Regions from separate parts of the Homo sapiens genome. Here all the other regions are linked to region 1. The links are contacts of gene promoters, found by promoter capture Hi-C in blood cells and fetal thymus (Javierre and others, 2016). All regions are on one chromosome and are shown on one strand. Each heading gives the region's core, a stretch centred on a gene start or on the middle of the fragment in contact. The rest is flanking DNA. Distances are from core to core; before and after follow the strand shown. Region 1 holds the start of AFG2B (AAA ATPase AFG2B). Region 2 overlaps TERB2 (telomere repeat binding bouquet formation protein 2). Region 3 overlaps SORD (sorbitol dehydrogenase). Region 4 holds the start of LOC105370802 (a long non-coding RNA gene). Region 5 overlaps DUOX2 (dual oxidase 2). Region 6 overlaps SQOR (sulfide quinone oxidoreductase).

Evidence for each region. Contacts are between HindIII fragments. The CHiCAGO score rates a contact against its expected background, and 5 or more counts as called.
Region 2: a fragment that was not itself captured here is called in contact with the fragment with the promoter of AFG2B in region 1 in 1 of 17 cell types (M2 macrophages); the score reaches 7.5 in M2 macrophages.
Region 3: a contact is called between a fragment that was not itself captured here and the fragment with the promoter of AFG2B in region 1, in 1 of 17 cell types (total B cells). The highest score is 8.1, in total B cells.
Region 4: a contact is called between a fragment that was not itself captured here and the fragment with the promoter of AFG2B in region 1, in 2 of 17 cell types (monocytes and total CD8 T cells). The highest score is 6.2, in monocytes.
Region 5: a fragment that was not itself captured here is called in contact with the fragment with the promoter of AFG2B in region 1 in 3 of 17 cell types (naive B cells, activated CD4 T cells and total B cells); the score reaches 7.5 in naive B cells.
Region 6: a contact is called between a fragment that was not itself captured here and the fragment with the promoter of AFG2B in region 1, in 1 of 17 cell types (M0 macrophages). The highest score is 5.9, in M0 macrophages.

Annotation. Positions count from the first base shown.
Region 1 is chr15:45,400,503-45,404,821 of GRCh38, forward strand. It overlaps AFG2B (AAA ATPase AFG2B), which reads left to right and starts at 1,834. Exons shown (of 8, transcript NM_024063.3): 1 at 1,834-3,016. The coding sequence starts at 1,928. It also overlaps a transcript of GATM not described here. RefSeq lists enhancers at 1,287-1,336, 1,347-1,416, 1,807-1,966 and silencers at 2,047-2,126, 2,517-2,666. The HindIII fragment of the contact is 3,246 bases long and covers 359-3,604 here.
Region 2 is chr15:44,969,318-44,973,636 of GRCh38, forward strand. All of the region lies in intron 5 of TERB2 (telomere repeat binding bouquet formation protein 2), which reads left to right. It also overlaps the pseudogene LOC100187725 and the pseudogene RNU6-966P. Among named protein-coding and RNA genes, the nearest start is that of TERB2, 15 kb to the left of the region's middle. RefSeq lists a silencer at 2,737-2,915. The HindIII fragment of the contact is 1,011 bases long and covers 1,651-2,661 here.
Region 3 is chr15:45,024,959-45,029,277 of GRCh38, forward strand. The region is part of intron 1 of SORD (sorbitol dehydrogenase); the gene reads left to right. Among named protein-coding and RNA genes, the nearest start is that of SORD, 3.9 kb to the left of the region's middle. RefSeq lists a silencer at 750-1,038. The HindIII fragment of the contact is 1,429 bases long and covers 1,330-2,758 here.
Region 4 is chr15:45,702,412-45,706,730 of GRCh38, forward strand. It overlaps LOC105370802 (a long non-coding RNA gene), which reads left to right and starts at 2,784. Exons shown (of 5, transcript NR_135680.1): 1 at 2,784-2,878. LOC124903484 (a long non-coding RNA gene) reads left to right here. Exons shown (of 2, transcript XR_007064617.1): 2 at 1-772. The HindIII fragment of the contact is 2,150 bases long and covers 1,208-3,357 here.
Region 5 is chr15:45,105,071-45,109,389 of GRCh38, forward strand. It overlaps DUOX2 (dual oxidase 2), which reads right to left. Exons shown (of 34, transcript NM_001363711.2): 12 at 3,719-3,882; 13 at 2,977-3,152; 14 at 2,275-2,393; 15 at 1,762-1,899; 16 at 1,458-1,571; 17 at 1,055-1,257; 18 at 573-758. Among named protein-coding and RNA genes, the nearest start is that of DUOX2, 6.9 kb to the right of the region's middle. The HindIII fragment of the contact is 3,201 bases long and covers 481-3,681 here.
Region 6 is chr15:45,665,989-45,670,307 of GRCh38, forward strand. It overlaps SQOR (sulfide quinone oxidoreductase), which reads left to right. Exons shown (of 10, transcript NM_021199.4): 4 at 3,940-3,993. Among named protein-coding and RNA genes, the nearest start is that of SQOR, 33 kb to the left of the region's middle. The HindIII fragment of the contact is 2,092 bases long and covers 1,522-3,613 here.

The DNA of each region.
Region 1 (4,319 bases), core at 584-3,083:
AATAATATTTCCTGTGCATATGGATTCTATAAGGTCAGAGGGTTCTTGTTTGACCTTGTATAAAATCAACCTCTTAGACCAACCAAAAGCAACATGTAGTTTCCTTCTCATCATATTCCTAATAGCATAGTTTGTGCCTCTGTTTTAAACCAATTCAGAAAATTTTGAGGCCGATTTAACTTTATTGGCTCCCTGTTTTGGCTTTGGTTATTCCACTCCATTAAACCTTTACTTCTTGGCCATTTCTGCACTGTAAATATAAGTAAATCTACTAACTCTTTTACATGAGATCCCTTTACATATTTAAGACAGTTATCCTGTCCTCAGTAAGTCTTCTTTCCCTCTCCCAGATCCTTAAAGCTTCTTGGAGCTGAATAGAAGGAACTCGATGAGGTACAGGCTTCTGATAAAATAACTTGATAGGCATGTAATTCACACCTTTAGGGGTCGGTAAAAACGATGGCTTTTTTTTTATTTCAAAAAATGCAAAGCTGTTATTTAAAAGTCCCCAAACCAAAAAGAACTGAAGCCAATGGGATTAAGAGGAAAAAAGAAAACAGGAAGTAATGGGTGACTTATCCATTTCAAGACCTCCTCCTGCTATTTTCTGATTCCTAAATTGTTCCAGAATCGATTTAAGCAGACAAGTACAGCTGAGACCAGGTAAGTTACTGTCAAGTCAAGAAGTCTGTCATGTCTGCCATGAAGTTTGGACAGAATGAGATCAGGAACTGGCATGGGTCTTAAGATCCCAGATCTGACAGTACTTCCCATTGATAAGATATTACTACACAGTCTGTAATTGATTATTTGCATAGATAGAAAAAAAAAACTTCCCAGCAACTTAAGCACTCTAAAATATCAGTTTTGTCAACTCACAAATTTGGGTTGCAGTGAAAGTGGGGAAAATAGAGGTAGGAAGATGTAAGTCAAATAAAAACAAGGTATATCTTCTTGTCTTTGAGTATCTGTAGTTCTTTTTTAACGGCAATTAAGAGGGATAGAAAATGTATTCCAGCTGATAAAAAGGAATTCCCTGTGCGAAAGGGAAAGGCAGAAAGCAGCTGGAAAAAAAAAATAGCAGGCAGTTGTCTTAATAACGTAGATAGGTATCGCCTCTAATACAGGACTTAGTACTGTTGTGCCCCAATTAGACAGTAAGCATTGATCGCATGAACTTTAGTGATTAACTTGTTGCCAAAGAATATTCAAAAGAATATCAGAAATCAGAACAAATGTACTGTTGGTGTGCTACAAATCCATCAGGTAGCCTAGTTTTCCTTCTTTCCTCTCTACAAGGGATTTTAAGCGCTACCGTGTGCTTCCCTCCCACTATGCTGGTACTTTCCCATAGGAAGGGTTGTGCCTGGACCTCCCAGATTGGAACCCCGATTACCGAAGGTCCCAAGGCTGTATTCTCAGTTACGCCAAGTCACCTGAGACATTTGCACCAGAGCACCCAAAATTCTGTGCCCATGCGGATAGTTAGAGTTTCTTCACAAAATAGCAAAGTCTCTAGGTTGCTATTCCAACGGCGGTAGTACTGATGCTCCAGTTCGAAGGCCAGGAAAACAGAATGTAAAGCCGGTGACTTCCAAGATATATGTAACCACCAAAGTACATGCTTAATGACCTAGTGAAGTGAGCTTAAGCCGCCTCCCAGACACCTGTAACGAAGACCATCTCGGGAAAGCTCTGGGTTAGGCAACTCGATTTCACGAAAGCGGACACCAACGCTCTACCCAGAGGCCCGAGCGTCGTCTAACGTTTCCATTGGCCCTTTCGGCCTTCACTCAGCTGCTAGCAACGCAGTCTGCCCTAGCGCATGCGCGCAATCTGCTTCCGGCCTGCGAGCTCGGTGTTCCGCTTTTTGTGGGCCGGGTGGGTTTCCTAATCTGGTTTCGTCTGCCTGGTTCATCTGTGTGCGATGGCTCCGGACTCGGATCCCTTCCCTGAAGGGCCGCTCTTAAAGCTGCTACCCTTAGACGCTAGAGACCGGGGCACCCAGCGCTGCCGCCTGGGCCCGGCCGCCCTCCACGCCCTGGGCGCGCGCTTGGGCTCGGCAGTGAAGATCTCGCTACCCGACGGCGGCTCCTGCCTCTGCACTGCCTGGCCTCGGCGGGACGGAGCGGACGGCTTTGTGCAGCTGGACCCGCTGTGCGCGAGCCCCGGGGCGGCGGTCGGGGCGTCGAGATCCCGGAGGAGTCTCAGCCTGAATCGCCTCCTCCTAGTGCCCTGTCCGCCCCTGCGGCGCGTCGCCGTGTGGCCGGTGTTGCGAGAGCGGGCAGGCGCGCCCGGTGCCCGGAATACAGCCGCGGTGCTGGAGGCGGCACAGGAGCTGCTGAGAAACCGACCGATCTCCCTGGGCCACGTGGTGGTCGCTCCGCCAGGCGCTCCTGGCCTGGTGGCTGCCTTGCACATCGTCGGCGGGACGCCCAGTCCCGATCCCGCTGGGCTGGTCACCCCTCGTACCCGCGTCAGCCTTGGCGGGGAGCCTCCGTCGGAAGCCCAGCCGCAGCCCGAGGTGCCCCTGGGAGGTCTTTCGGAGGCGGCCGACTCGCTGCGGGAGCTCCTCCGCCTCCCGCTCCGCTACCCGCGCGCCCTGACCGCGCTGGGCTTAGCGGTGCCTCGCGGGGTGCTCCTGGCGGGGCCCCCCGGAGTGGGCAAGACCCAGCTGGTGCGGGCCGTGGCGCGCGAGGCGGGCGCGGAGCTGCTGGCAGTCAGCGCCCCGGCGCTGCAGGGTTCCCGGCCTGGGGAGACCGAGGAGAACGTGCGGCGGGTCTTCCAGCGCGCCCGGGAACTGGCCAGCCGCGGACCCAGCCTCCTCTTCCTGGACGAGATGGACGCCTTGTGTCCCCAGCGGGGCAGTCGAGCACCCGAGAGCCGCGTAGTGGCCCAGGTGTTGACGCTGCTGGACGGCGCCAGTGGGGACCGCGAGGTCGTGGTTGTGGGAGCCACTAACCGGCCGGACGCTCTAGACCCAGCGCTGCGTAGGCCCGGGAGATTTGACCGAGAGGTGAATGGGCTTGGCGGGTTTGCCCACTGTCGGTGGAACCTCGGCCGCTTCTGGCGCCATTTGGCTGCCCCGGAGGCGTTTGCCTCTTAGGTTTGAGCATCGGTGAGGTTGGAGTTGGGGCTCTTTGCAATGCAGAGAACACGTTCTCTGCCGATATATGATCTGTGAGTCAGGACCTGTATTTCCCCAGAGTCAAATTGTCAGGACCTGTGAGTCAGGATCTGAGAGTCAGGACCTGTTTCCCCAGAGTCTAATTGTTTTGGGAAGCGAGGTGTCCATTACAGATTAATTTTGTTGTGCAGGTCCTATAATCAGTAATGTTAATTCTTAAGAGAATTTTGGTCACCTACAAGCGTGTTAAACTCATTTTTTGGAATGAGAATTTAAAGAAGGATAGCCTCAAGAAGTAAGTGTGTTGAAATAAAAAGGGAGAAGGTGGGGAAGAACTAAATGGAAGCAGGCATTAACTCTTCTGGATTTATTCATTCCTTGTCATAACACCAGCATCCTATTCCACAATTGAGGAGGTACCCACAACTGCTCCCTGAGTTGTCAGGGAGGTTGAATATTCAGAGCTGTCCTATTTTAAGCTTTGGTCCTAAATTGACTTGAATTCTAAAGAACAGTTTGAAATTTAGTGACTGATATTTCTATTTTGTGATAGGATTCAAAAGAGAAATGATAATTACACACTTTTAGCTCAGTTAGTTCAGGACTTGAGTGGATTTCTTCCTTGCACTATCTAGTACCTGTGTCCTTAAGGGCAGGGACCTAGCTATCTATACCTGGCTTCTAGAACTTTGTGTGTTCTTAAAAATAACAAAAACTTGTTAAATGACATAGAATTTTCATTGTGCAACTTTCTAGCCAGTGTTACTCCTCTGGAATATTAGGATTTTCGTATATTCAGAATCTAAAGTATACGTAAAGTGCACGGTACTAGTTCCAAAGTGGTTCACTAAATTGTCGTACATGTTTGTCAGGATAAAAAACATATTATTATTTTGGCCGGGCGCGGTGGCTCACGCCTGCAATCTCAATACTTTGGGAGGCTGAGGTGGGTGGATCACCTGAGGTCAGGAGTTCGAGACCAGCCTGGCCAAGATGGTGAAACCCCGTCTCTGCTAAAAATACAAAAAATAAGCCGGGCATGGTGGCACATGCCTGTAGTTCTAGCTACTCTGGAGGCTGAGGCACCAGAATCACTTGAACCAGGAGGTGGAGGTTGCAGTGAGCTGAGATGGTGCCCGCTGCACTCCAGACTGGGCAGCAGAGTGAAACTGTGTCTCAAAAAAAAAAAAAA
Region 2 (4,319 bases), core at 906-3,405, 430 kb before region 1:
GGCTGGTCTCAAACTCCTGGCCTCAAGCAATCCACCCTCCTAGGCCTCCCAAAGTGCTGGGATTATAGGTGTGCGCCAACTCGCCCAGCCTAATTAAATTTTTTTTTTGTCAAGATGGCATCTCACTATGCTGCTGAGGCTGGTCTTGAACTTCTGGGCCCAAGGTATTTATTAATTAGTATAGTAGCAGGCCAGGCATGGTGGCTCACACCTGTCATCCCAGCACTTTGGAAAGCTGAGCCATGAGGATAGCTTGAGGCCAGGAGTTCAAGACCAGTCTGAGCAACAGAGAGAGAGCCAGTCACTACAAAAGATAAAAAAAAAAAATTAACTGGGTGTAGTGGTGTACTCCTGTAGTCCTAGCTACTTGGGAGGCTGGGGCAGGAGGATTGCTTAAGCCCAGGAGTTGAGGTTTGCAGTGAGCTATCTATGGTCATTCCACTGTGCTTCAACCAAGGTGAAAGAGTGAGGCCATGTATCAAAAAAAAAAAAAAAATTAGTAGCATATATCTGTTTCTTAGAATATGGAGCTGGAGGGTATTCTTTCATATTGGAAATAAACTACATAATATCATACAGTATGTTCAAATGCATATACTAAAGAACTCTACAAAATTTTAATCAAAATCTACGTTTAGTTTGTTAAGTAATTTCTTGAGAGAACCACTGAGAGACAGTGTCCTTGTGATCAAATGATGAGTCTCTTCAGAGTTAAGTCTTATAAAGGAAATTTTTATTATGTTGATCCAAGTAATGCAGTAGTGGCACATTGGTTAGAAGGCAAAATTTTACTTTAATTTCCCTAAATGCTGTCTCACTTGAGTCAGGAGGGATTGGGAATACTCAAAATGATCTTCCAGAGAATTTCTGCCATAAGAGTGTGTGCCCTCATTAGGAATGGCTCTCTCATTATCTGTCCGTGATTGGAGGACTGCTTTCTCTGATAAAACCTTTATATCTCCTGGTAAAGAGGAAGATGTAGTATAAAAAAGAACTTTGCCATTTGGTCAGGGAAGGGGATGTCTTGTGTATGTTGCAGTAAAATTCATCATGTGCAGTTTTGTGCTGTCTTTCCAAGGGTCTTCAATGCATCTTACTGAGGTGCAGGCTTTCTTGATTGCAGTTGGGGTTTCCAGTTTTCTTAATAGTTCAGCTAGCATTTGAGTCACCAGATATAAATTAGACATTTATCTCTTCAGTTGCCAGTATACATTCTGTGTATTATCACTTGAAGTTCTTACTCTTCAGAGATCTCTGCTCTTCAAGATTGTCTTCCTCATACAGATAGGTTTGTTTGGTTTTTGAGTAGTTCTATTTTGAGATCGTTACCTTCTTTCCTCATCAACTCTTGTTCCAAACCGTGGATCTTCAGGTTACAGCTTAACTTTTCCACCTCCCAGTTTGATGAAGGTGGATTGAAATTCCTCATCACCAGCTGAGTTTCCACCTCTGTCCTTAGCTAGAGTTCTACTTCTTTAGATTGCATCTGTTTATTCAATACTTTTAAAGATTCAGAGTTGTGTTTACTCATTTTATCCAATTTGCTCTTTAAATCATCTCTCAATGCAAATCTTTCAATATACAGAATAGGCCTTATTTACTTGTTGGTATTCCACAAAACTTGTTTCTTCATCTAATTGAGCTCCTATAAGCTTTTCTTCCAAAAATCTAATTCTTTTCTTTAACATAAGATTTCTCTTTCTCTGAATCCTTAAGTCCTTTTTTGATGTCTTCATATGGGCAAATTGGGAAGCAACAGAAGCATCTCCTCAATATGTTGAAACTGGAGTTGCTGGGGTTTTCTCATAATTTAGCATACAGGTGTCACCTTCTATCAGTGCATCCATGAGAGCCTGAAACCAGGCTACTTAGAGCCGCCACGGAGTTTCCATTCCCTAATGTTTAGAAACAGCCAAAAACAGATCGGGTTGCCAGGGATCATCACGGGTTCAGATTTCCCTGAAGATACCTCCACTTAACCAGCGAAAGCAGCCACTCTGAGTTATTGAAATGAGGATATTGGTCTTATATCTACCCATTTGGAATTCCTTAAGATTCTAAGGATATTTTAATTGATTCTAAGGATATTTTAATCGATTCTCTCTTGGCTCTTCAGGGTGCACAGTCATATCATTTGTTAATAATGAAAGTATTCCAGCTGGGTGCGGTGGCTCACGCCTGTAATCCCAGCACTTTGGGAGGCCCAGGCAGGCGGATCACGAGGTCAGGAGATTGAGACCATCCTGGCAAACACAGTTAAACCCCGTGTCTACTAAAAATACAAAAAATTAGCCAGGTGTGGTGGCGGGTGCCTGTAGTCCCAGCTACTTGGGAGGCTGAGGCAGGAAAATGGCCTGAACCTGGGAGGCCTGAGCTTGCAGTAAGCCAAGACCATGCCACTGCACTCCAGCCTGGGTGACAGAGCAAGACTCTGTCCTCCGAAAAAAAAAATAGTAAAATAAAATAATGAAAGTATTCCTTCTTTCACAACATCTCTTCCTTTTCATCCCCCCCCCTCCTTTTTTCCCTTTATCTCTTATTGTTTGGCCAGAATTAAATAGTGGGTGGTCCCTGACTTTTCTGGGAACACAATTTTGCTTTATTTGTAGGACCTCATCCTGATGAGTAGAGTTTCTTTTGGGAGAGTTTAAATGAAATAGAAGCTTTTTTTTTTTTTTTTTTTTTTTTTGAGACAGAGTTTCGTTCTTGTTGCCCAGGCTGGAGTGCAATGGCGCGATCTTGGCTCACTGCAACCTCCGCCTCCCAGGTTCAAGTGATTCTCCTGCTTCAGCCTCCTGAGTAGCTGGGATTACAGGCATGTGCCACCACGCCTGGCTATTTTTTTGTATTTTTATTAGAGACAGGGTTTCACCATGTTGGCCAGGCCGGTTGTGAACTCCTGACCTCAGGTGATCCACCCGCCTCGGCCTCCCAAAGTGCTGGGATTACAGGCGTGAGCTACTGCACCAGGCCTTAAAAATGGAAAATAAAGCCTTTGCTATTACTCAGTGTACTTCTAGATTTTTAGGAAAATAATAAATTTAAGGATGACTCCAATTTTTAATTATTGAGGTTTTTATTTTTATACAATTATATTGTTAGTTATATGTGATCTAAGTATAGTAAACATTGTCATTTTTGAATAGTGACTGTTCAAAACATGAATGAAAATAGGATCTTTTAGTTGAGATCCTTTTAGCTTTTTTTTTTTTTTTGAGACAGAGTCTGGCTCTGTCACCTAGGCTAGAGTTCCAGTGGCGCCATCTCAGCTCACTGCAACCTCCACCTCCCAGGTTCAAGCAATTCTCTTGCCTCAGCCTCCCGAATAGCTGGGATTACAGCTGCTCGCCACCACACCTGGCTAATTTTTGTATTTTTAGTAGAGACAGGGTTTCACCATGTTGGCCAGGGTGGTCTCAAACTCCTGACCTTAAGTGATCCGCCCACCTCTGTCTCCCAAAATGCTGGGATTATAGGCGTGAACCACTGTTCCTGGCCACCTTTTAGCTTTTAAAAATAAGAATATACATTTTTTTAGATTTTATAATTGTATAATTAGAACATCAATTGTTTTTTTTTTTTTGAGGTGGAGTCTCGTTCTGTTGCCCAAGCTGGAGTGCAGTGGTACGATCTTGGCTCACTGCAACCTCTGCCTCCTGGGTTCAAGCAATTCTCCTGCCTCAACCTTCCGAGTAGCTGGGATTACAGGTGGGTGCCACCACACCCAGCTGATTTGTATTTTTAGTAGAGATGGGCTTTCACCATGTTGGCCAGGCTGGTCTCGAACTCCTGACCTCAGGTGATCCACCTGCCTCGGCCTCCCAAAGTGCCAGATTTACAGGTGTGAGCCACTGCGCCTCGCCTAGACATCAGTTTTTATTTGTTATAGTAAACTATGGAAATACTAGTTAATAGATGCCCAATTATTTGAATACTAACAAACATGTTGTGATCATTTAAAATAGAATCTACTATGCTTTTCTTTTGGCAGATTTAATACTGTATATGTATATGTGTATTTTGTCTAAATATATAGTATTGCATTATTGTACTTTCAGGGATATGGAGAAAAAGACCCAGGACTCTATAGACTCAAATACTTGTTTTGTGAAGCGGCTAAGAACACTAGAATATCTATATGGGTCTTTATATTACTTAAAAGCACAAAAGAAGTTCATAATTAACATTTTCACCCATTAAGACTGAAGTCTGATCAAAGAGCAATTAAATTACTATATATGTGCTCACTTTGACAGCACATATACCAAAACTGGAACTATTCAGAGGTTAGCATGGCCCCTGCGCAAGGATGACAAGCA
Region 3 (4,319 bases), core at 794-3,293, 380 kb before region 1:
CACAGTTAAGTTCTCCTTCATCTTACCTCAAACTCATGGTCTTCCACTGCTCAGGCAGACTACCTCTACTATGGTTCCGTAGACAAAGCTTTGAAGATTAGAGCAGCAGCGAACTAACCTTGATCTCATCAGCTTTGCATTAGAACCCACTCTCTGACTGGATTAGGGGCTAGGTTGGGGTGGCTGTAACCTGAAGTATCTAGAAAATATGATGGGCTAGAGAATTTCACCTTTGGTTGTGTGCTGGAACACTAGCTGGGTAAAAGAGTTCAGAGGAGGATTTAGGAAAACACCTAGGCTCAGTTTGAGAATGGGAAGTGGTAGCGTCATTTACTAGTCAGAGTAGATTAAAATGATGAGATCAGGTTTGAAAAGTTGAGTTTAAGATGTCTCTGGAGGCCAGGTGTGGTGGCTGATGCCTGTAATCCCAGCACTTTGAAAGGCCAAGGTAGGCAGATCGCTTGAGGTCTGGAGTTTGAGACCAACCTGGCCAACACGGTGAAACTGTCTCTACTATAAATACAAAAATTAGCTGGGTGTGGTGCCACATGCCTGTAATCCCAGCTACTTGGGAAGCTGAGAATCGCTTGAGTCTGGGAGTCAGAGATTGCAATGAACTGAGATCGTACCACTGCACTCCAGCCTGAATGACAGCAAAACTATGTCAAAAAAAAAAAAAAAAAAAAGATGTCTCTGGGACAGGACACAAGGTGCCTTTGAGAAATTTCCTTGGGTGCAGGGGTCTGGAGTGCAGGGATACTATCAGGGGTGGAAATGTAAACTCAGGAGTCCTTTGCTCCTCTACTGAGCAGTACTGCACTGCCCCGCCACCCAGGAGACATTTGGAAATGTGTCAGGGAGGCTTGGTTGTCACGATGACTGAGGAGCACTACTGCGGACTTTATTCAGTTCATAGTGCTATCTTGCACAACAAAGAGTTGTCCTGTCCCAAATAGTGCCCTATGGGGAATTATGGATGGCTGAGCTTGCCTGGGCTGAGTGAACCATGTAGAGTGAGAAGGAAAGAAGAGGAGGACATTACCCTGGAGAGAGCCCCAACACTGGAGGGGAAAGGGCAGAAAGAGTTGTCAGCAGAGGAGACCCACTGTGCTGCCTCAGGTGCACCTGCAGCTCAACACAGACCTTCTGGGCCCTCGCCACTCCTTCTCAGGCATGGTCTTCCACCAGCACCTCCACAGTGCCCAACCCAGACCCCGAGTGTGGTATCACTGCTCCTCCATCTTTTCCTTAAGACAAATAGGCTCAGTGGCTTGGGTTTGGGGTCAGTAGTAAACCAGAGATAGCAACTAGGAGGAACAATCCTGGGGAAGCTTTGAGGGGAACCACCCATTTTCCTCTCTGCAAGAGGACCAAAATGAAACCCAGAATTTCCTGGGCTTAATAAATTGTCAGCAAATGCATTTTGGGGGGAAAAAAGCCTTGGTTGGATATGAACTACAAAAAAGATAAGAGGAAGTGGGGAGAATTTGACTGTTTTCTTCTTTTGATGTAAGACCACCAGCCACAGATTAAAAACCCTTCCATTTCTGGCTGGCTGGGGAACTGCAGCCCAGCAAACTGTGGCCGATTTAGGTATACAGGGGGGCAGGGTCTACTGATAAAATGGTTCAGTGCCTCAGGAACTCCTATGAAGGGAGTTGTTTGGGGAAACTCTCATTCCTAAGATCTTTTCAAAAAATGTATAAATTTTCAAGGGAAAAGTGTATCATTTAACTTACATCATTATTTGCTTTCCAAAAAGTGTATAAATCATTCCTAAAATCTGAAGCAGGTTTCCAAAGCATTCTGAAGCAGGAAGCAATGTCTCAACCTTTCCCACTGCTGCCATCCTACTTGAGATAAGGCCAGGAACCAGCCAGCGTCTGGGGCAGTGGTTCTGTGGGGGAATGCGACCTTAGTCCACTTTACTTGTCCTTTAACTGGCAGGAAGGAAACCTACCACACAGCCTCCCTACTGCCTAAGGAGACTGCACCATTCTCTTCTTTCTTGATGTATGGCTGCACGGAACAAAAAATTAAACTCCTCACCTACTAATTAGTTAATGATCACCTTGACCACAGCAAGGAGGAGCATTTATAAATTGGGTGGTAAGTCAGACACACACTAAGACCAGTGGTTTTCTTTTATAGTTAGGAGAACAAAACGAAACAACAATCTGAGACTTAAGGATTTTCGCTTTTCCCTTCATTTTGAATAGAGAAAGTTTGAGAGTTGGAGGGAGGAAAAGGGACTGATGACCAAGTTGATGTATAAAGAAGCAAACAGTGTCAGCTTGCTGGGGTTCTCTCTAAATGGAAATAGTACGAAGTTCCCAAACCAGGCTGGGGAGCCAGAGTGGGGTTTAGTCCCCCTTCTACTGCTGCTAGTTGTATGACTCAACAAATTATTTTCCACTTCAACTTCCCCGTGAAATGGGGATAATGGTAGTATTCATCTTTGGTTGTATGAGGATTCAGTGGAACCAATTGTGCGTGTGAAAGGCCTAGCACAGCATTTAGCACACTGTTAATGGTATGTGCTAACTGTGGAGATAAGCAGGAAGCCAGAGCCCCTGAGGACGGACACTTAAACCATATCAGCTTAAAAAGAGGTGGATGGAGACCAGGGCCTTCAAACACATGAACAGTTTTCCTAACCAAATTATTATAATGTGGGCCCAGGCAATAATCTTGCTTTCCACTGTATTTACCAGTTTAATTACTGTATGCCCCTTTGATCAGTCTATTGAGACCCAGAAGCTTTTAATTAGGAAATGAATTATGGATTCATGAAGTTAGAATATAAAATAGTCAAATTAGTTTTTACCCCATAGAAGCTATGTTTGGTGGTGGGGGTGGTGGGAAGCTTGTTTTTACAATGTAGGGTTCACTCGAATGGTAAGGAAATGCGGGGAATTAATATATTGACTGCCTACTGCATTCCAGGCATGTGCTGGGAACTTTAATACAGGGCTTTACAAACTGTCCACAATGAAGGGCCAATTTTACTTTTTCCAGTCGGCCATGGACTGATATGTTTGCATCAATATATTTGAATGCTGTGTCACGTCAAAATGCTATAAACAGCCAGGCACGGTGGCTCATGCCTGTAACCCCAGCACTTTGGGAGGCCAAGGCGGGCAGATCACTTGAGGCCAGGAGTTTGAGACCAGCCTGGCCAACATGGCAAAAATCCTGTCTCTACTAAAAATACAAAAATTAACTGGGTGTGGTGGTGCACAACCTGTAATCCCAGCTACTCAGGAGGCTGAGGCACGAGAATCACTTGAATGGGGAGGCAGAGGTTGCAGTGAGCCAAGATCATGCCACTGCACTGCAGCGTGGGTGACAGAACAAGACTCTATCTCAAAACAAAAACAAACAAAAAAATTATATAAACATTTCTAAATGCTCCTCTCAATTTCTGTACATTGCATTACAAATCAGTTCATCAATCACCCTCTGAGTGCACTTTATCTCCCTTCTTCCTGAAAGCTGGCTCTTCCTTCAGGCAGGAGCATCTGAACAGGGAGAAGTATAGGAACAAAACAGGCTCCATTTCCAGGAAACAACACCATGGAGGGGATGTAGTCAGATTTTTGTTATGATCAGCTATATGAGGAGACAATAAATTAAAGGGAAAAATAATAATTTCAGAATGATGGGTTAATGTTGTTTAATTATAAAGGGCAGAAAAATTAATATATTGGCATCAAGTTTAAACATTACTCGGAGGTCCATGAAGATATTTCTTGAGTTTTTGTCCATTGAGGCAACGTATTATACCTTAGGTCAAAAGAATTGCTTTGACCTAAGCATTTTTAAATACTCTTATTTATTTTTAAAAATAAGATAAATCTATATCTGTAATACAGCACATTCAAAATGTCTATACTTTACTGTTAAGATTTTGGGGTGAGAAGCGGATGGTATAATGAGAGGGCATGAACATGGGCAGCTCAGATGGTCCTGTGCATCATGTCTGTTTCTCTGAGCCAGCTGCTTCTATGTGATCAGATTAAAGGGGCTGATAGTCATGAAGCAGGAGCTGGATTAAACCAGATTACCCTGATAGTGATGAGATGCAGGCTACTTAACCCTTACAAGTCAGAGACACTTGAGAGTGAAAAGAGAATGTGAAAATCCTCCAGAAAAAGAGAAATTGGGTAGCAGTAAGTAGCCCAAAGAACCATCTTTCTTGCTTTTATCTTAATTATGTTTTAACAACAAAACAAAACCCAAACTGGACATACCATTTCAAATTCAAAACAGGAAATTAAATCCAGTAAACACTCCCACCTCCACCAACAGCTCTGGAA
Region 4 (4,319 bases), core at 1,033-3,532, 300 kb after region 1:
GGGAGCAATGGAGGATAGGGGGAAAGGGTGCTAGGACTGCAGGTGCTGACCAGCCCAGGCCTCCGCCTCCACCTGGCTTATTGTCAGTCAGAGCTTCACCTTCCTCCAGAGCATGCTCCCTACTGTTGACTGGGGACTGTGCTGTGAAATTTAGCAAGATCTGGCAGAAAACTCTTCCCCATCCTATATCTTTCTTTGGGCAGAGACTCAAGGACCTCAGTTGTGTGACTTTTCACTTCAGCAAAGTTGGTTTTATTAGCTCTACTTCCCCCAGTTTGGTAGTAATCCAGCTCACAAATCCATCCTTACAGCCTACTAATCCATGTTACATCCTACTAGTTAACGATTGTCTTCTAAATGAGGAATGCCTTCCAATTATTTTTATGTGCAAATACAATACTGCAGGTGCTTAAACATCAATAATGGTAAAAACAACATGGTAATTGCTCTAGACTGAATGTTTGTATTTCTCTCAAATTCATATGTTGAAGCCCTCAACCCCAATGTGGCTGTATTTTGAGATAGAGCATTTACAGGAGTAATTAAGGTTAAATGAGTCCACAAGGGTAGGGCTCTGATCCAAAAGAAATAGTGTCCTTATAACGGGAGGAACCAGAGAGCTCTCTCTCTCTGCCATGTAAGAATACAGTAAGAAGGTTGCTGTCTACAAACTAAGAAGAGGGCCCTCACCAGAATTCAATCATGCTGGCACCTTATCTTGGACTTTCAACCTCCAGAATTGCAAGAAAATAAATTTCTGTTCTTTAAGCCACCCCAGTCTGTTGTGTTTTGTTATAGTAGCTCAAGCTGATTAAAAAAGTATTTGAATGGTTGTGGTTAAGATGAAACTTTTCTAGAATTCAACTTACAAATTTAGAAAATGGCTGCTATTTATGATTAGAAACAACATGTTCATTGTCAAAAGTCCTGACACATTTGCAAGATAACATGGCAAAGGAGAAGTAGAACTGAGATTTGAAATCTCTCCCAGTGTCTTGGGAGAACTTGTCGATGTCAGTATTACTTCGGAGTTCTTTTCCTGTTCAGCACTGTCCTATTTCTGCTTAGGTAGTAAAGGAAAGGGGAGAAATGTATTTGTCTAAATTATTTCACTTGCCAAGTAGAAATAAATAAATAAAAATAAAACTTTCATTGGTTTAAGTATCTAGGAAGTCTGGGAAGGAGATCAAGCATGGGTGGATCAAGAAGCTTAATTTCTTAATTTCTTGACCTTTCAGCTCTGACTTTCTTTGTGTTGGTTTCTTTCTCAGGTAGACTCACTTCATATGTTGACCAAGTGGGCCTGGGCAGGGTTAGACTTTCCTGGTCTAGAGCCCACAGACCCAGAGACAATGCCTCTTTTCTGTTAACAGTAAAAATCTGGTGAGAACTTTGAGGATTCAAGCTGGGTTTGTGAGCTTCCCGGAACCAGTCATGTGCTCATCCTTGAAGGAGAGGATTAGGTCAGCCATGTGTGAGCCACATGGACCGAGAATGGGTGTAGGTGTGGGGTTTAAAAACCCACATTTACTACAAGGATAGGAAGGTGGACACATCCTGTCTTCTCCATTAACAGTGTTAATTTATTCATTCATTCTACAATTAGCAATCGCATGGGGCCTGGCCGACTGCTGAGGTTCCTCAGGTGAGTAAGACGGGCTCCAGCCTTGGAGGAGCTTCCAGTCTAAGGGAGCCCGAGTTCACAGAGAGGGTCCCCTAGGACACTGGCACGGCATCCTGCTGGCCAGGAAAGGGAACTGCTGCTCCTCCAGAGAGGATAGGTGGGTTTGTTGTTTTTTTTTTTTTTGCCAGAGAACACCATGGTTCCTGCCAGCACCTGCTTACGACAGCCCTTTCAACGTCGCAGGGCTTGTCAGTGGGTTCTGTGACAGAACCGTGCAAGTAATGGTACGCGGAGAGGGCGCGCGAAAGCGCCTGGCTCGTTCCTGGAGCCCGGGCTGCGGACGCCCCCTGCGTGCTGCGAAACCTGAGGGGTCTCGGTCCTTCCTGGCCTTTTATAGGCCGTGCCTAGAAACGCTTGGCTTGACCAGTTAGAAGTAACGCCACGCTGTGAATGTTTACCACCTGCGCACTGTCAGCGCTGAGTAAAGGGGCCCGAACCCCCGGTTCCAGGAGCCCCTGCTCGCCTCTCCAGCCACCTTCCCACCAGCCCACAACGCACAAGGACCACAGCTTCCAGAGGCGCCGTGCGCTCTCTTTCCAGGCGCTTTCCCCCTGCTGGAATGCTCCACCCCTTCCGCTCGGCGAACTCCTATTCATCCTTCTGGACTCCTTCCCAGAGCTAACTACAGACCTGAAAGATTTCTTCTTCTGCGCTCTCAGGGAACAACAGTCCTTAAAGTCCAGCTCACGCTGCTGTGCTGCAGCGTCGCTCTCGGTCCCCTCCACTGCACTGGGTCTCCCCACTGCACTGGGCCCCCTCTTCACTGCACCCGGCCACTCCACCGCACCCGGTACCCCGGCCCTCTATGGCACCCAGTTCTCTCTCCTCGGCACCCAGTTCCCCGCCCCCACCTCCGCCCCAACGGCACCCAGTCCCTCGCACCCAGCACCGCCCCCGTCCCTCGCACCCAGCACCGCCCCCGTCCCACCAACAGCACCCAGTCCCCCCGCTCCGCCACGGCACCCAGTCCCCTCAGGGCACCCGGTTCCCCGCCTCCGCCAAGGCACCCGGTTCCCCGCCTCCGCCAAGGCAACCGGTCCCCCCCCCCCCCGCCCCCCGCTACGGCACCCAGTCCCCCGACGGCTCTCGGTCTCCTCCACGCCGAGCCTCGGAGAGCAGGGGCTTTGCTTTTCCGGCTGAGGTGTTCAATAAACATCTCTTAAACAAAGGAGTGCGCAAGTGAGATAATATAAGGTAAGTGCTTGCCACTATACGAATGTACAGAAAGGAAGATGTTATTATTTTACTTCAGCCCCATATTTAATTATAAAGCATTTGTGAGCAAAGCTGATTAACACTGATTTCTAATTTCTAGCGTGAGACATGACGCTTGGGAGACAAGCTGTAAATGAGACGTGGGGCTTATGTTTTCGGTAGGTGAGATTTAATGTACACAAGGGTAAGAGTAGGAAACAAAAGTAATTCGAAGTTAAATATGGTCTTTTTGGTTAAATTCTACGGGTTCTGGGAGGAGGGCAATACCATTTCCTGCTGAGGTGAGTTTGCTCACCCATTGCCATAATCACAATCGTAATAAAAATAACATTAATAACTACAATTGATCGAGCTCTTTGAGGCGGACATCGGGTTAGGCATTTTGGATCCAATTTCTCATTTAATCCTCACGACCATCTTGAGGGAGCGCATTTTACCCGTGTTTTACGGGGGACTGAAGCTTAAGGAGCAGTAACTTGCCCAGGTCACGTGGCTAGGAAGAGACAAGGTCAGGTCAGAGCCACAAGAGGGCGCTCTTCCCCTTTCTATTCTATGTTGTCCTGTGGTTCCCGCTTTTCCTCAGGGGCACCTTCCACAAATGTAAAAACCCCACATAAACATCTTGTTTCTCTGTCTTCCTCCTCCCCAGTGTCTCTCTCTCCTCTCAGTCTGTTTGTCTCCTCTCAGTTTCTCTCTCCCTTTCCTTACTTGTTTTTTGTCTCTCTCTTCCTCCTTGTTTTCTGTTTATTTATCTATTTCAGGGGATGGGCAGCCTTGGGAATATGGGCTGTAGGTAGGAAGAGAACATTTCTGGAACTGAAAATTATGCTGCATCTTGTCTAACGGGAAGCAAAATTTTTGAATGTGGGAATCTTGTAAAATCTAGACGTTGGTCATCAATACACATGGCATGAAACTGTAAAACTATGAGCAGCTGTGGTGAGTTGTGACTGGGAAGCCACATGGGGTGTGTATGAGCACATGCATTTGCAAGCTTCCCTGGAGCTTCCTCCAGGTTACTCCTGGGTTCTGCCTTTCCCTGGTTACACTTAGGATTGAAGCCTCATTCACCTCTGTGTATTTGCTCATGCTTTTCCTGTCACTGGTGTTAATTTCTGTAGTCTCTCTGCATGTTTAACTAAATTCTACCTCTTTTTTTTTTTTTTTTTTGAGACAGAGTCTTGCCTGTTGCCCAGGCTGGAGTGCAGGGGTGTGATCTCAGCTCACTGCAACTTGAGTCTCCCAGGTTCAAGCGATTCTCCTGCCTCAGCCTCCTGAGTAGCTGGGATTACATACAGGTGCACACCACCACGCAGGGCTAATTTTTTCTTTTCCTTTCTTTTTGTTTTTTTTAGACAGAATCTCGCTCTGTTGCGCAGGCTGGAGTACAGTGGTGTGATCCGGGCTCACTACAACCTCT
Region 5 (4,319 bases), core at 831-3,330, 300 kb before region 1:
TCAGCCTCCCAAAGTGCTGGGATTATAGGCATGAGCCACTGCGCCTGGCCACAACCGTTTGTTAAATGCCTGCAACATACCTGGCACTTGGGCCAATAAGCACTGTACATAAAACAATGTTTTTCAAACATTAGAGTGTATCTGAATCATCTGGGGAGCTTGTTAAAACACAGATTGCCAGGCCCCACCCACAGAGTTCCTGGTTCAGTCTAACTGGGTAGGTGCATTTCTAACATGTTCCCAGGTGAGGCTGATGCTCTCGGGTCCAGAGGCCAACCTCTGTGTACCACTCATGTAGACGATCTCACCGAATCCTCACAACAATGCAATGGGATGGATACAGTTTTCATCACTGTTTTATAGATGAGGAAACAGAGATACAGAACAGTGATAATGTGACTTGCCTAAGGTCACAGAGCTAAGTAAAGTGGCAATGCCAGGATTCAAACAAGGCTATTTCTCTCCAGGCCATAGAGCGGAAGCTTAGTTCACCCACAGGGGCGTTCTATGCAGCCCAGGTTTCCTCCATTTCTGGGGCTGGACCCATCTCCAAAAGGCACAGGTCATGGCACCTGAGCAAAAAGGTGTCTGAAGAAGATCTCCAGGATGCGTTCCCGCTGCTGCTTTGTCACAGCCTTCCTAAATAGCTCCTTCTCGCTCATCTCAGCCACATGGAGGCCCAGAGCCCAGCGCACGCAGAAGTCCCATAGCTGCTGCACAAAGGCGCCCCGTTCCTCTTCAGAACTAAACAGCAGCACCTGGGTGGGAGGAAGGCGGCACTGACGCAGGGAGCTCGCTGGACCTTCTGCTTCAGCCTCCCCTCAATGGATCTTGGGTTGAGGGGAGGAGAGAAAACTCCTCCCCATCCATCCAGGCTGGGGCCAGGTGTGTGGACGAAGGGGGTCAGGTTGTGTCTGGGGGCCTCTGAAAGGAGCCCCTCTCCCCAGCATCAGCTGTCATAGTTGAGCTCTGTAGCTGAGGATAGGGTGGCCTCGCTTGTGATAATGGAGTCGTGTGAGGGCAGCCCAGGCTGGGGAGGCAGGACGAGCCATACCAGGTCATACTCCTTAGGGATCTTGAGCAGCAGGGTGCGGCATCCTCGGTTGTTGGACAGGATGAGGTTGACCTGCTGCAGAGGCTGCAGCTGGACCACACGGAGCACAGTGAGATGCCTGTTCAGGACCTGCAGACACCTGTCTGACAGCAGCTGGATGATGATGGGACTGCTCCTCTCCTTGGGGCCTGGCCACTCCATCGCTGGGGAAGGGATAATTGGGCCGGGTAGTTCAGCAGATGTCCCCAGGTCCCCGCCTTCAGGTCAATTCCTCTGTGAGTCTGAGCAGGCGCCCTAAAGGTGCCTTGGCTTTCCTCTCACTCTGTAACTTGGTTCTTTCTCCCAGACTCCTGTCTCTCCCCTCCTCCGTCCCTCCTCCCTCCTCTGCCCAGCCCCTGCTCACCTGGCACTCCATCTTTGGCTGCTTCCTTCTTCACGCTCTCTTTGAGTTTCTTTTGTAGCTTCTTGTGTTCTCGGCCCCGGAAATAGGCCACCACTCCAGAGAGAAGCAGACTCACTGAAGTGGATCAGAAGGAACAGTGAGGAGGGAGCCCCTCACCTAGAGCTCCACTGTGGCTTAGGCTATGGCCCCTCCCTTCCAGAGGTTCCTTGAGCCTGGTCTCAAACGGTACCAAATAGCCAGCCCCTCAGGCCAGCAGGAAATGAGGGGCAGGGCCAGTCTGCAGAGAGGCTGCCTAAGAGCTCACCTAAGGGAAGGCAGCAGAGAGCAATGATGGTGATGGCAAAACCAGGGCTGCTGCCTTCAAAGAAGTCAAGCACAGTCAGGGGTGCACACTGGGGCAGGCCGTCAGTTGTGAGCTGCTTAGGTTGAGGGCAGGGTGCACCTGAGGGAGAGGGCAGGGAAGACCTCAAAGTCTGAGGATCCCGCTATGTGGCCAGACCTCTTTCCCCTCTATCCTATAAAGGACCAAGGTATCATCTGTCTTCCCCAGGCCCACCTCCCTGAAACTGTCTCCCTCAAAAAGTCCCCATTCATTTCCTGTCTCTTGGCATCTACCCCATCCACCCCTTCTTGACTGTAGGGTGTAGCTTGTGTGCTAGTTGAGGTCCCTGCTGTGGGAGCCAGCCAAATGCAGGCCTCCTAGCCCAACACAGAAGGTGCCTGGCTCCCTGGACAGCACCAAGTGATTCCCCCGCACCCTCAATCTTGATCCTTCTCTGGCCACTGTCACTCACTTGTGTTCTCCCACGGCACTCACCTTTATGCCAGACAAAGACATTGGGCTGCAGGGCACTGGGGTCAATGTTGATAACAGCGACCAGCACGTCCCGCAGGGTGGTATTTCGGATGTCTTCAATCTCCTTCTTGGAGAACAGCCTAAGTTGGAGGAAGTAGAAGTCACTGGGATGGGAAGGGGATGCAGGCCTCCAGCAACCCCAGGCCCAAGGACCCAGGTGAGAAAAGAGACCCAGAGGGGCTGGGTGCAGTGGCTCATGCCTGTAATCCCAACACTTTGGGAGGCCAAGGCGAGTGGATCACTTGAGGTCAGGAGTTCGAGACCAGCCTGACCAGCATAGTGAAACCCCATCTCTACTAAAAATATTTTTTAAAAAAATTAGCCGGGCATGTTGGTGCATGCCTGTAATCCCAGCTACTTGGGAGGCTGATGCAGGAGAATCACTTGAACCTGGGAGGTAGAGGGTGCATTGAGCCAAGATCACGCCACTGCACTCCAGCCTGGGTGACAAAGCTAGACTCTGCCTCAAAAAAAAAAAAAAAAAAAAAAGAAAAAGAAAAAGAAAAAGAGAAGAGAAGAAAAAAAGAGAGACCCAGAGGGGTTGGGAAGGGTGTGGTGGGCTGACTGGGAATCAAGGGCTCATAGGGGCTGTCTAAGGCTAGACAGAGGGTCTGGGGCTCAGGCTGAGGAGCAGTCTGAGGTGGGGGCCCAGGCAAGCCTTACCCATTCCTGGTGTTCTCAAACCAGTAGCGGTCACCATCCCGCAGCCGTACAAACTGGTCGAGGACAATGGCACTGAACAGGGGTCCAGGGTCCCCATGGCTCTCCAGGAGCCCCCCAAGGAGCAGCTCTAGCTGGGATAGGTCCTGGTTGTACAGGGCAGCTGTGGCCTCCAGCACCTGGGGCACCACAGGAGATAAGGGGTGAGCGTATGTTTGCTGCGGAGGGCAGCCACTGTTGCCCCATCCCTCGGGCACAGAACCTCAGCCGCTGCCTGGCTGCTGCTCAGGCCTGATTTCCTCTTCTTAGGCAAGCCCCCTCAGGCAGGACAAGTCTGGTGGAAGGATCAGTGTGTCCCTACCCACGGTAACACCACGGTCAGGTGCCCTAGGACCATATCCTGTGACCATCACCAGCCTGCCTGACCTCAATGATTAGCAGCTTCAGGGGCACACAGCCCTTGGGGTGGGACCCTGCAGCAACAGGACAATGGCACCCAACCCAGAAGCCACCCTGCAGGAATGGTACAATGCAGTGGTTAGGAATATATTCTGGAATCAGATGGCTGAATTTAAGTCCCTCCTCTATGATTTACCAACTATGTCATCAGTAAAATGGGGAAAATGATTATACATACCTTACAATATTATTATGTAGATTAAATGAGTCAACATATGTAAAGGGTTTGGAACAGTATTGCCATAGGAAAGCTTTAGCTGCCATTATTATCATTACTATTCCTGACCTGGGGGTCCACATTAGGGTTGAGATCACTCCAGTTCCTTGGGATGTCCAGCCCAAAGGCCAGCAGGGCCTGGCTATAGCTGGGCAGCCCCATATCTCGGCCACGTTGGATGCTGCTGGCCACATAGTCTGTACGGGAGAATTTGCCAGGGCCAGGCCAGTAATCTGAAGAGGAGAGAAGACTAGACTATGGGCTTTGTCCTCTCCATCCTTTTTTGCCCTGCAGCCTTGTATCTGACTATTGGCACTACGGTTCTTCCCTCCTGGCTACCCCCAGTGATCCACATGAGATCTGTGCCCATGCTGACCTTGCCTTGCTGCAAGGCCAATGTCACCATGGGTGATCAGAGCCAGTTTTTCCAGTAAGACCCTTCCTCTAAGACTCAAGACTGTTCTAGTCACCAAGCAGTAAATTCCCTGTCCTATGCCTCCCTAGTTTCAAGACAGGGCTGAATGAAAACCTTTAGAGACCTAATTAAGCACCAAAGAGATTGTGGTACCACCCCTCCCCAATACTCAGACATAGTTAATTTAAAATAAAAGCAACACAAAAGTGTAAATTAAGCAAAAAAAAAAAAAAAGTTCAAAGTTCATTTTCTTCT
Region 6 (4,319 bases), core at 1,318-3,817, 270 kb after region 1:
GGGTGTGTTTGTCTGAAACACATCTCAAGGCCCTGTGTAGACTGGTCCTTGCTCCTTCTCCAGGCTTAACCTGGTTCTATTCTCTCCTTGTTCCTGCTCCTGCCATACTGGCCTCCTATTTCCTCAAATGCCTCAGCCTTTTTCTTACCCCAGGACATTTGCACATGCTGCTTCCACCTCTATCCCTAGCTAACTGCTACTCATCTTTAGCTTCGATATGACTCCTTCAGGCAAGCCTTCCTTGACTTCCCAGACTAGGTCAGGTTATCCCTTGATGTGCTATCACAGCATTCTGTGATTTAGTAATTATTTGTGTCATTATCTGGTAATGCCTATCTCACTCACTAGATGGAGTTCCTGAAGGGCAGGAAGTGTATCTTTCTTGTCCATTGTTTTATGCCCAGGACCTAGCACAATATCTGGCACATAGAAGGTGCTCAGTAAATATTTGTGAGCAAATTGTGTCTGTTTCTTCATTTGTAAAATAATAATAATAATAGTACCTAGATACCTTATGAAGTTGTTGTGAGTGTTAAATGAATGAAACCATATGAAGCACTTAGAACAGCACCTTGCACAGAGTAAATGCTCAATAAATGTTGCTGTTATTTTTAAAAGAATACATAAAAAGGAAAAGGATATATTTATTGAGTATCTACTATATGCCAGCAGTTCTTGATTGCTGATTGAAAGCAGCAGGCTTATCATCTGTGAACCTATGTTGGTGCTCCTTTTCCTCTCCCCTCCCCTTCCCTCCTCTCCTCTCTCCTCCCCTCCCCTTCTCTTCCCTCCCCTCCCCTTCTCTCCCCTCCCCTCCTCTCCTCTCCCCTCCCCTCCTCTCCTCTCCCCTCCCCTCCCCTCCTCTCCTCTCCCCTCCCCTCCCCTCCCCTCCTTTCTCCTCCTCTCCCCTCCCCTCTCCTTTCCTTTCTCCCATCCCCTCCCCTCTCCTCTCCTTTCTCCCATCCCCTCCCCTCTCCTCTCCTTTCTCCCCTCTCCTCCCCTCTCTTTCTTCCTTCTCCTTCCCCCTCCCTCCCTCCCTCCCTTCCTTCCTTCCTTCCTTTCTTCCTTCCTTCCTCTCTCCCTCCCTTCCTTCCTTCCTCCCTTCCTCTCTTTGTCTCCTTCCTCCCTCCCCTCCCCTTCCCTCCTCTCCCCTCCCCTCCCCTCCTCTCCCTTCAGCCTTGCTCTGTTGCCCAGGCTGGAGTGCAGTGGTGAGATCACAGCTCACTGCTCCTTGAACTCTTGGGCTCAAGAGTTCTGAGCCGATCTACCTTAGCCTCCTGAGTAGCTGGGACTACAGGCACACACTACCATGCCCAGCTAATCTTTTAAAAAATTACTATGAAATGTCTATTTAGTAGTTGAGTCTAGAGTTTTGCAAAGGATTAATAGCCTATTTACTAAGATGTTCGTGTCAGAGTTTACGTCTTCTGACCCCTGTGTAATATGAGAATACTTGCAGATATTCAGCCTTCTGGCAAGGTCTACACTGTTGTGCGTAACTGCTCAAAAGTCTTGTCTATAAGCTTTTGCTGTTCCTGGGGGTTTAGGTCATCTGACCTGAAAACTTGAACTCATTCAAAAGGCTTGAGGTTTTCTTCTTGCTTTCTTGCTATGGAGGGTTTATTCTCTCTTAATGATTTTTTCCCCATAATCTTAAGCTGGCATGTTTTTAGTCCTTAGACATAATGAATATTATGCTCTAATAAAATAGAGCATAATCAATATTATTTGCATCATGTTTGGTGGTGGCCTGCACAAACCAAAAGCTCCTCTTGTTTCCAGTGGTCATATGTTTCACCTGTAGATCATCACTACCAGACCCCATGCTAGCTCTTACCTAATATGCCCGGATTGCTCAACATGGTTTGGCCGGCCATTTAACGGGCCTGGTGCCCTTTCCTACAGAAGATGGAATTTCAATACATCATCTTTCTTTATTTCTTTCTTTCTTTCTTTTTTTTTTTTTTTTTTTTTGAGATAGAGTCTCTCACTGTCACCCATGCTGGAGTGCAGTGGCGTGATCTTGGCTCACTGCAACCTCTACCTCCTGGATTCAAGCAATTCTTCTGCCTCAGCCTCCTGAGTAGCTGGGACTACAGGCGCCCGCCACCATACCCAGCTAATTTTTTGTATTTTTAGTAGAGACAGGGTTTCGCTATGTGGGCCAGGCTGGTCTCGAACTCCTGACCTTTTGATCCACCCGCCTCAGCCTCCCAAAGTGCTGGGATTACAGGCATGAGCCACTGCACTGGCCAAGACATCATCTTTCTATGGATAGGCAAAACATACAGATGAAAATGCTTATATTATCTTCCACTTAGAGAAATTGTACTTTTCACAAGCAACTGAAATCATTCATCTATCCATTCACCCACCAAACATTACAGAGTTCCTCACTTTAATTTAGTGACTGTGCTAGATTCTAGGAATGTAAGGAATAAGACATAACTTTTATCCTCTAGGAGTGGTCAGTGTGCTGGGGAGAACAAGTGCTAGGAAGCCTCATGCACACTATGCTGGGGAGCTCCTGGGAGGGGCCAGTGGTGAGGGTGATCGTGTCATAGTGGGAAAGCCTGCTGTGGAGGTGGCTTTGGGGCTGAAGCTCCCGGATGCCAGGGCAGGGCCTCTTGACTGCACGTTACTTCCCTTGGCTCCTCAGCCAGAGCCAAGCACTCTCAGGTCTTGGAGTCCTCTCTCTCCAACTGCGATTCGCTCGGGTTGCTTGCTCTGCTCTGCCATTTAGTACAGGATCATGGTAATCACCACCTGTTTCTTCTTTCTGGGCTCCTGAGTCTCACTGCAATCATTTCCTAACTCCAGTTTTCTAGGCAAGTTCTTGTACTTTACGGCCACTTTGTTTACACTTTTTGGCCTAAACTTGTCTTCCTCTTTGTCCTAAACCCACATTTCCATCATGCTACTTATGCATACAATACCCGTATTTGAAGAAGGGACTTTTTTCATCCCATACAGGTCATTAAATAAGATCAGGTACACTATGTCATAGCCTTTCAATGACCTTGAGATTGCTCAAAAGAGCAATCTCCCAATTACGATATTGGTCCAATCCACATGACAGGTCAGACTTGCTTGGGACTCACATATTACCCAATAGATTTTAGTTTTTTATTTTTAATATACAATATACTAATATATATTTTTTATATATATATTTTTTATTTTTTTTTAATTTTTTTTTGAGACAGGGTCTCACTCTATCAACAAGGCTGGAGTGCAGTGGTGTGATCTCTGCTCACTGCAACCTCCACCTCCCAGGCTCAAGCGATTCTCCCACTTCAGCCCCCCTGGGGACTACAGGTGCATGCCACCGCACCTAGGTAATTTTTGTATTTTTTGCAGAGACAGGGTTTTGCCATGTTGCCCAGGCTGGTCTCCAACTCCTGAGCTCAAGTGATCCACCTGCCTCGGCCTCCCAAGGTGCTGGGATGACAGGTGTGAGCCACTGTGCCTGGCCTACCCCATAGATTTTAGACAGTGGATTGTCTTTTAAGATTAGGAAGCCCTTCTCTTACCTCTCAATATGAAAAAGTGTTAATACAAGCACTGTACAAATAATTGTGGCCTCTCACTGTGTAAACACATAGCTGTCTCAAGCTTTCTGGGGCTAGGCAGCTTACAAAATATTTGTGAAGCAGTGAGGTGTGAGGCATAGACGGCAGAGGGCATGATGGGAGTGGACACGCATCCCTCCCTGCCAGTCTGCCCACCTCCCCCAGCCCCAAGACATTCAGATTAAAAAATGGGAACCTGGGCAGGACTCCCAACCTTGTTCTGCTTCGATTTTCTCATCTGTTCTATGGGCTAATAATATTTCCCTGCCTCCCTTAGACCACATGGAACCACATCTGGGGCCTGAGTCAGTCCTTGAGTTGATGCTTCTTGAGTCCTGGTCTAAAATAATGTCTTTTTGTGTTGCAGATCTCCTACCGATATCTTATTATTGCTCTCGGAATCCAGCTGGACTATGAGAAGGTACCGTGTGAAACTGTTTCTGTGTTACGCTGGCTTATCTATGCCAAGAGCAAATGCTGCATTTAGTTGCTTTATTATATTCATTTTGACAAGAAAGGGGTTCTAAGAAAATCTCTTCTGGTTTTATTTCTTGGCAGTCCTTTTACAGTTTTAAGGAAGTCTTCTCTAAGATTCTGTCGATAATAACCATATGTTCTAGCTTTAAGCTTTAATTAGAGTTCAGCATGCTCATGCCTTAATGATTAATTCTTGCAAAACAGCAGTTTTCTTTCCACATTTGTAAGAAACATGTCTTTCTATGTGGGACAGAGTTGGCTGTATTGAAG